2 separate regions of the Homo sapiens genome follow, and region 2 is linked to region 1. The links are contacts of gene promoters, found by promoter capture Hi-C in blood cells and fetal thymus (Javierre and others, 2016). All regions are on one chromosome and are shown on one strand. The core of a region is centred on a gene start or on the middle of the fragment in contact, and the rest is flanking DNA. Distances in the headings are between cores, read along the strand shown. Region 1 holds the start of BAG2 (BAG cochaperone 2). Region 2 overlaps FAM8A1 (family with sequence similarity 8 member A1).

Evidence for each region. Contacts are between HindIII fragments. The CHiCAGO score rates a contact against its expected background, and 5 or more counts as called.
Region 2: a contact is called between a fragment that was not itself captured here and the fragment with the promoter of BAG2 in region 1, in 1 of 17 cell types (activated CD4 T cells). The highest score is 5.7, in activated CD4 T cells.

The regions. Positions count from the first base shown.
Region 1 is chr6:57,169,753-57,174,313 of GRCh38, forward strand. BAG2 (BAG cochaperone 2) reads left to right here and starts at 2,574. Exons shown (of 3, transcript NM_004282.4): 1 at 2,574-3,058. The coding sequence starts at 2,946. ZNF451-AS1 (ZNF451 regulatory antisense RNA 1) reads right to left here and starts at 2,461. Exons shown (of 4, transcript NR_110742.1): 1 at 2,322-2,461; 2 at 1,253-1,346. ZNF451 (zinc finger protein 451) reads left to right here. Exons shown (of 15, transcript NM_001031623.3): 15 at 1-553. RefSeq lists silencers at 2,587-2,666, 2,717-2,986 and an enhancer at 2,721-3,478. The HindIII fragment of the contact is 6,211 bases long and covers 279-4,561 here.
Region 2 is chr6:17,607,088-17,611,648 of GRCh38, forward strand. It overlaps FAM8A1 (family with sequence similarity 8 member A1), which reads left to right. Exons shown (of 5, transcript NM_016255.3): 5 at 1,108-4,561. The coding sequence ends at 1,252. Among named protein-coding and RNA genes, the nearest start is that of FAM8A1, 9.1 kb to the left of the region's middle. RefSeq lists a silencer at 3,537-3,737. The HindIII fragment of the contact is 4,181 bases long and covers 653-4,561 here.

The DNA.
Region 1 (4,561 bases), core at 1,324-3,823:
AAAACTAGACATTGTGGCTTGAGAATTTATCAATCATCTTTCCGAAATGACCACATTGTGCTTTTAGTTTGTATGTTTAAGTGGTCAAGCAAGGCTCTAGGAGGTAGTCACTGAGCTGGACCTTAAACACATCTGCAGGAGCTCACAAAATGGGAGCAAAAGAGGCATTCCAGAAAGAAGAGTAGTTAAGCAGATGTGGGGGCAGGGCAAGAGGAGACAGCACCTTGTTGCCAGAGATTCTACACAAAGGTGTGATGGACACTGATGCTCTATTAAGAAGCTTTTGTGGTGTGTGTGGTAGAGAATAATTAAGGCTTCTGATAAGACAGGAAAGGGATATTTCATCATGACTGTTAAGAAAAGGTAACTGGGTTGTTTAATGTTTTAATTGATAATTGTCACTGATCGTATTTCTACTTGTTAAATAATTAAAAATCATCTTAAAATTCATACTTTGACTTTAATTTAGACACAAGGAGATGTAATCGCTGTGTAACATCAGAGAAAGCTATATGGATTATCGTCAGAAGTAAATGTTTCTAACATTGACAAAGATGCTTATCTTTTCATTACATCATTCACTCATTAATTCATTCAATCACAAAATATTGAGTACCCACCATGTGCCAGCAACTGTTCTAAGCACTTGGAATATACCAGTAAGCAAAACAAAGCCCTTACCCCTCTGTGGAGCACATATTGGTGGAGAGGAGGGGATTGTACAATGTTAGTAAGCAAGGCAATAAAACTGCATATCTGATGGTGATACGTGTAACGACGGAAAATAAAGAAGGGAAGGGAATAAATAGTGCAGGGACAGGGAGTTGGGGGGAGGCTTGCTATTTTTAATAGGGTTGTCAGAAAAGATCTCACTGATAGGTAAACTTGAGCAAAGACCTGAAGAAGGTGAGGGAATGAGGATGAAAATACATATCGGGAAGAGAGTTCCAGGTGGAGGAGGTTAAGGTCCAGACAGGAGCTTAGTATATTCAAGGAAAAGCAAGAAGACTAGTATGGCTGACAGGATGAGCTAGGAGAGTAATAGGAAATGAACTTACTGAGGTTTTTCTAATGACCTGGGCTTTTACTTTGAGGTAAGGAGCCAGTGAAGGTTTCTGAGAATAAATGGTATGATCTGCCTTATTTAGGATTGCTGTAGTTGCTGCACTGAGATAACATGTACATGAGAGGCAAGAGTAGAAGCAGGGAGACCAGAGAGGAAGGTATTGTAGTATTCCAGGTGCAAACTCACCAGGTAGCTTGAACCAGAATGGTGGCGGTAGAATTGGGAAGAATCTGGATATATTCTGAAGGCAAAATTGATGGGGTTTACTAATGGTGTGGATCTAGGATAAGAGAGAAAAAGAGTTCAGGATGATTCTAAAGTCACTTGATAGACTTTCAAACCACTCACAAAATGTGTTTTGTTTTCGTTTGTGTCATGATAAAGTTATTTTTAATAAGGTCAAATAATCCCCTACCCCAAGAGTTAATTAGGATTTAAAATGAGTTCAGAGGGAATTGGGATCCAGCCTTAAGGGCTTCAACTCTGTTCAAGTATTTAAATGGCTTTGATCTCTGATTAAAGGTGGTGGCTCAGCTTTAAACTATTATTATCTATCATTTTCTGTGCCCTGTACATTGTCATCCTTGCAATGAGAGGCATAGAGCTATCAGGAGAGGGGACTAAAGCCTAACTTTTTAAGTAGACTAATCTTTGTATCCTCAGCTCTATTCCGTCTTTTACCGACAGCTGGTGCCTGACCTAGAGGCCTACTGCATCTTTTTTGTTAACAGGATTTTTAAAAGTTGAGGACTTTTTAATGCCAATTATTTCACTCAGAATATTTATTTATTTATTTATTTTTTTGAGACAAGGTCTCGCTCTATCGCCCAGGCTGGAGTGCAGTGGCGAGATCTCGGCTCGCTCAACAGGAATAATTTTAATAGCAAAAATTTAAAACCCCTTCATTAAGCCAGGCGTGGTGGTTCACATCTGTAATCCCAGCACTTTGGGAGGCTGAGGTGGGAGGACCGCTTGAACCCGGGAGGTCGAGGCTGCAGTAAGTCGTGATCGCGCCACTACACTCCAACGTGGGCGACAGTTAGACCCCATCTCAAAAACAAAAGAAAATTAGAATGGTAAAAATGAAGTAAATTCACTTTGCTTCCCACATCTAGCTAGACAGGGAAAGATGGAGTAGCTTTTTCTTTTTTACTTCATAGCTTCAGTGTTGTCCGGGCTTTCATTACTCTCATCTCAGTATAAAGTGGTAACAGGAAGGTCAGGTGAGTGTGGGCTGCCTACGAGCTGTACTTACTGCCTTCTGTTTCACAAAAGGACGTTTTCTCCCCATAATGTCGTTGTTCTTGCTTTGAATTATGGGTGCTGGGAGAAACTAAACGAAGCCGTCACTGAGCAATACACCCACAGCCCGTCGACCGATAGGAACCTTCGCGTGGGGGGAGTTGGTTACTTTTAGGTTGCATGAAGAGGCGGGGCCTCGCGGGGCGGAGCTGGGGGTGGTCTGTGGGTCCGCGCGGGCTTCGGGTAGTTCCTGGGTCCGGGGAGCAGACGATCCGCTAGCCACATTAGGCGCTCGGTCTCTGCGTCCGCCCCTCCCGTGCCTCAGAGACTTGCGCTCCCCAGGCCCGAGCCCCTGTCGGCCCATCCTCGAGCCCGTGTGGCTCGCGAACCTCTAACTCCAGCCGCTGCAGCCCCCTCCCAGGCCCGGCGTCCCCGAGCCCCGCGGGCGCCGCGCCTGCCCTTCTTTGGCTACGCTGCAGCCGCGGTGTCGGCGAGTCCTCCCGGGTTGCCCCCGCGGGCGTCAGAGGGAGGGCGGGCGCCCGCGTGGTGACGGCGACGCCTGCAGCCCAAGGAGCGCTCCACTCGCTGCCGCCGGAGGGGCCGGTGACCTCTTGGCTACCCCGCGTCGGAGGCTTAGATGGCTCAGGCGAAGATCAACGCTAAAGCCAACGAGGGGCGCTTCTGCCGCTCCTCCTCCATGGCTGACCGCTCCAGCCGCCTGCTGGAGAGCCTGGACCAGCTGGAGCTCAGGTGAGCTCCGGGCGGGCGGTCTCGGGCGTTCTGCTCGCCGCGCGGGCGGTTCGCGGGCGGTTAGCGGACGGAGGCCGCGTGTGGCGGGCCGGGGCCTGGGGCACAGTGAGGCTGCGGCAACCGAAGTTGCTTGTTGAGATTTGTTGTGGATGGACGTGGTGTAGTTTTGTTTGTTTCTTGGATTATCTCCCCTAGTCCGAGAGAAAACGCATTCGATTTAAGCTAAACCTGTGAGGGCGTTATCGGTGGCCACACTTTGATTAATTTACCTAGGTGTTAGGGAGCGGAAAAAAATCAGAGGAGATAAAAGTTACAGTGAGATTCCATGCGATTAAGGACTGTGGCAGCTTGGGTCTGCAGAACTTCTAGAACCTTCTGTGTGGCCCCAAACGTTTTAACTTACTCTTCTCGTTATGCATTTTTTAAGGGAGGCAGCAGTTTACAGTGGCCCTCCACGTGAAGTTAAGTTTCCTTGCTTCAGAACAAAAATGAATAAAACAAAACCAACCCAGCAATCCATTGAGAGCAAAGATTAGACAGGAGTGAGGGGTAGGCAGTAAGTTACCGGGTGCTTCGTGCAGCAGAGACGTTGCCGCTTCTGTTTCTCCCCTAACCTCGCGGACGGGATTCAGCGGTTCCGTTCGTCTCTCGGTATTTATTGGGCACCTCCCTACATAGAAGACTAAGTGCTAGTTACTGGCCTGAAAGCATGAAAAGATAGTTTTCCCCTTTTCTTGCTTAAGAATTTATTTGGTAATACAGTAGTAGACTTGTATAGAATTTCTAAACAATTTAATGTTAATAGATTTTTGGAAAGACTTTAACGGTGTATTGAAAAGTTTTATCTACTTCCTGTGAACGTTTGTCTCAAGTTACTGTGTAAATTTTGTGAGCAGGTGTAGTTAAAAGAAAATCTTGTTAGGCACCTGCAATTCCGTGAAACTGTACACAGGAGTTGGTTACATAGTTTTGTCTAGGTTGTGCATGAGCAAAGAAGCATGTGAGCCAAAAAGTTTAGGAAACACTGCATGTGTGTCTTTATCTTCCTACATTAATACACCCAAACATGAAGTATCTGTTTGCTGAGAAAATACTTCAATAACCACGGTATCTCTTAACAAGTGAGGCATTATTATTGTTACTATTGGGAGAAAAGAGCCAGAGAGTGAGAGATTCTCCACTCAAAATAATTTCTTGGATTATTAAGCCCTACACCAGGTTCTGGGGTTCCACTCAGAATGAGGCAAGTGGAAGAGAGAAGTAATGCTTCCTCATGGATTTTCACAATACTGGCAAACCTGACCGTTCCACTCCCAGAAAAAGTAGAGCGAAAGTAGAAATTGGTGGCCTCAGTTACTTGAAGTCCCTCTAACTGGTAATGTTTCTTTTTAGGGAGCCACATAACAAGTAACACACATCTCTCCATGTCTTCAGAACGTTGAGGGCATGTTCTCAACCACTTCATTCTCCTCTCCCTTAGCCAGAAAGAAAAGTTTTCCTAAA
Region 2 (4,561 bases), core at 1,493-3,992, about 40 Mb before region 1:
GTCTCTACTAAAAATACAAAAAATTAGCCGGGCGTGGTGGCGGGCCCTGTAGTCCCAGCTACTCAGGAGGCTGAGGCAGGAGAATGGCATGAACCCGGGAGGCAGAGCTTGCAGTGAGCTGAGATTGCACCACTGCACTCCAACCTGGGCGACAGAGCAAGACTCCATCTCAAAAAAAAAAAAAAACAAAACAAAACTGGTAGTTATAAACCTACCTACTTCTTTTAATAAGAGTCAGTAATGGCTAATGTTTATTGAGTACTTTTTATATACCTGCACTGTTAATAACACTGCATATGTATTAATTTAATGCTAACAACCTCATAAGATAGAGACTATTGATCTATATCTATAGTATCATAAGATACTATAGGTAGTCTCTATCTATATACTATAGGTAGTATCTATATACTATAGGTAGTATCTATATACTATCTATAGTATCATAAGATAGATACTATTGTTCCCTTTTTGCAGATGTGGAATACAACTAGTAATTGGTAGACGATGGATCTGAATTTAACTAGTCTGGATTCAGAACCCACACTCCTAGCCACTGTACTTTTCTGCAGCCCTTCAGTGCACTAAAAGGCAGAAATCTAACATAAGTAGGATAATTCTCCATCCTGAGTGATTGTTGAAAGCTTTTAAAAGCTTTGCTTAATCACTGGATCCCACAAAGGAAAATGCTGATTAAAGAACACACAGTACTTTAAAATGCATGTTTTTTCTATAAGGTAGACAAATGGGACTACAGTAAGCATACTCAGAAAGTACTCAGAATTAATGTTCATTTCTTCTGAGAAAATACTAGAAAGCTCTGTAAACCATTAATTCAATATTCTGAGACATGTTTATTACTGCTTTTTATGTTGTTGAAGTCTTATTAGAAATAGCCCAGGTGGTTTGATCATGATACAGTGCTACTTGAAAATATATCAAAGGTAAAAATTCTCTCAACTATACCTTGAATGTCTTTTTCCCTGTAGACTTCTGTAGAGAAGTACAATTGTGTTTTAAATGTCTATTTTGAACTTGATGGGATACCATTAATCTATATGTGGTTTGATGTGTAACTTACCTGATATTTTTGTTTTAACTTTTTAGGTCCACTATCCGAGCTTTGATCAAGAATTTTTCAATTGCTTCTTTTTTCCCTGCTTTCATCACACTGCTGTTTTTTCAGCATAATCGAACAGCTTATGACATTGTAGCAGGAACCATTGTGGTAAAAAGAAATGGGGTCAGATGATGCCCCCCAAAACCCTGATTTCCACACACTAAGACTAAATTATGTATCAAGGCCATCAGTATCCCTGGGTTACACTAATTGATGATTTAGAAATTAAAGCAGTCACTCCAGTGTGATGCAGGTGACTACTCTGAAAGTATTGATTATACTTGAATGCCAAAGAACTTGTCCAGAAGAAAAACCTGTTAAATTCAAGTATTAAAATTTTTAGATCAAAAAGGCAAATGATTTTATAAACAATGGACAATATATACTTTCTTAAGATCTAAGGTACTTTCTTAAGATCTAAGAATTTGCTGAAAGCATTTTCAGCTTTGAAATCTCCAAATGAAACTTTAAAATTTATTTTGGTTTATCCCAAAATAATGGAAAATGTCCAGTTGTGTTTTGTAAACACCTATGTAACTCATCTTTTAGTTTACACTTCCTGGGGAAATTGTCTTTGGTGTTTAGAGGAGGGAATGAGAACACAAATTGGATAATCCACTGTCTCCCATCCCAGGAGGTGGTGAGTTGGCTACAAGAGAAAGGGACAAGTGAGGCAGGCCTAGCAGTTCCCTTACCTGAAGTTTTCAAATCCATACTGCAGTTCCCTCTCGTAATGATGTAACTTTACAACTATTCTTAATGCTTGAACATGTATTTAGGGGCAAGTTTCTCATGATGATGAAAAAGTATCAAGTCATATTGCTATGTTAATTGGTTTTTTTTTTTAAAAGGTAAGTTAGTGATTACTGTTAATGGTGGGGGAGTAAGTTTTCACTGTAAATTGAACTTATAATTTATGTGCAAGTGTTTTCAGTGCCCTGAATCAAACTATAAATGTGGGGAGAAATCACCTCCATCAAACAGTTGCATATTTACTGTAAAAGTATTCCCAGTATGTGTGCAGCATGAAGAAAGTATTAGTGCTTCTCAGTGTTCTCAGTGTAAATTCTATTTATATACAGCATATTCACATACTACTTTCCTTATATTTTATATAGTTCTATGACTGTTGAAACATCAAGGAGTTAAAAAAATCTTAATATTTCATGATTAACTCTAAGTACTATTAATTAATAGCTTGCGAAATATTAGCAATTTTCCCATTATGGACTATTCTCTCTAAAGCAAGAGAGACTAGCATTCCCAGACATCATTCTAGGGTCTTTAAGCTCATTTTGGGTCTGCTAAAGTTTGGGGGGAAATGTTACGCAAAGTGATACTGTGTATGTTGCCATTTTGCTTTATTCTTCTGTTGAAGCAAAATTGTGGGGTTTTATTATGTGTGTGTGCTTTTCCTAGATGTCCCAGTTAGCTGTGCTGAGATATACCTGTACTATTTATGGTTTAAGTTTTGATTCTTAGGTATTTTCTCCAGCTCTGACATTGTTTTCCAAAGACACACTAAACTGCATTGCACAGTTCAAAATTTGATTACTTAAGGGATCAATCTAGGTGGTGTTCTTGGTCTTAAATTTAACAGCAAACACAGCACATATCTATTATCACTATATTAATTTTCAAAGGTTTTTCTTTGACGTTTAAAACTGTGACAACAGATATTCACATTTGATTATAGAAACTTAATGTCTATTAATAATTTTAGTACAAAATTTCATAAACCGTGTTTTTCAAAATAAGTTTATGTCAAATCCAGCTTCCCAGAAACACTAATAATTAAGTACATCAATGTACTAAATAAATCATTCAGTTGCACCCATGGGGAAGATTGTGTTACTGCCCTTCACAGTGAAAAAAAGAAAAATCTTTCATTTTTAAAATTAGGAGATGTTACGTAACTTGGCACTTTAGTAGTGTATACACTAGCATTAGTTTATACACCACTTTTGCCGCTGGGGAATTCAAGTTGAAATGTCCCTCAATCATATAGGTCTGGAATACATCTTTCATTCATAATTTCTGCTCAGATAATTGAATAGTTTGCCATCGAGATTATTTTCATTTATACTATAAAACAAAAGCAAACTAGTCCAGTTTAATTTTTTGTACTTAGAATATTGCACATTTTCTATATATGAGTTATTCAGATTAGTATCTATGTAGGTTCAGTCAGATCCAACCATGGATTCGAGGTATTATACTGTATAACCCTACAAAATACATAGAAGTATTATTTGCCTTCATAATAGAACCCAAGAGTCTGTTTCAATTTATGAATTCAGTATTTGCACCGAGATTTTGATTCCCAAAGTTTGGAAAAAAATGACAAAACAACGAGGGAAGAAGGAACCAGACCTTAGTGCCACATATTTTTCTCTTGGGGTTGTAAGGTAGTCTCCTGCTTTCCAGAACACTTTATTATATTTCACTTATAGACCTGATTTTCTGTGTCAAAGTATAATTCTCATGCTGAAGCTGTAGCCTAAAAAGCCAAAAGAAAGTTGTCTTCATTGTACAAACATATTCATCACTTTAACAATAAGGGAACAAAATTTAGTATTCAAGCTGAGTGAGAATACTGTTTCAATGAGCATGTCCCTAAGATAAACCAGAATTGGCAGTTAATTTAGGCGTCTAGAAAATCTCAGTTCCCACCAGTAAAATTATCCTGAGTAGCTAATGCACCTTGAGAAAAATCTGGCATACTGAATAAATAACATTAACTTGGGAGCCAAGAGCTGGGTAAGCCTTACCTTTAGACTACTCTGTGACTACAGAAATAAAGCCAGCACTTTTGGAACTAATAAGCCTTCACTTGTCAGTATCATAAAGAGTATTGCCCAACTGAACTTTGCTCCCACTGGTTTAATAGTTACTTATTTCTGCCTAAGCACTCACCTTCCGATTTTACCCAAGTATATATATAGGATAGAAAAAAATGCATTATATTTGAGAGCTACTTCGCCCAAATTACAAAATGAGTGTTTTTAGATTCAAGTGACAGTAAAAGGATTTGTTCCCTTCAGTGACTTGAGTGTTTTAGTTATGCATAAGTATTTCTAGCAAAGGAAGGGTAGAAAGGAATTGAAAATTAATTTACACTAGTTGCTACTTGGGAATAAAGGGCTTTTTGAGGGGGGTATGGATATTAAATGTTTTCGTTATATACTTATCCCTATTAAAACAGGCAGTTGTTTCTTTGAATATGCCTAAATAACAGTATTCTTAAAATCTGACAGACAAGTAACATGTCAATTACTTGATATTCCTTGTCTCCAGTACCACAGGCCACTCTTGACATCCCATGTTTGCCTGGATAAAGTTCCTCATTTCAAACAGTATACATACTTCTTTGCAGTTCATTATAGTAAGGCTTAACCTGTAAACAGTATCTGATGGCCCACCTATAAATAAAATTCAGCA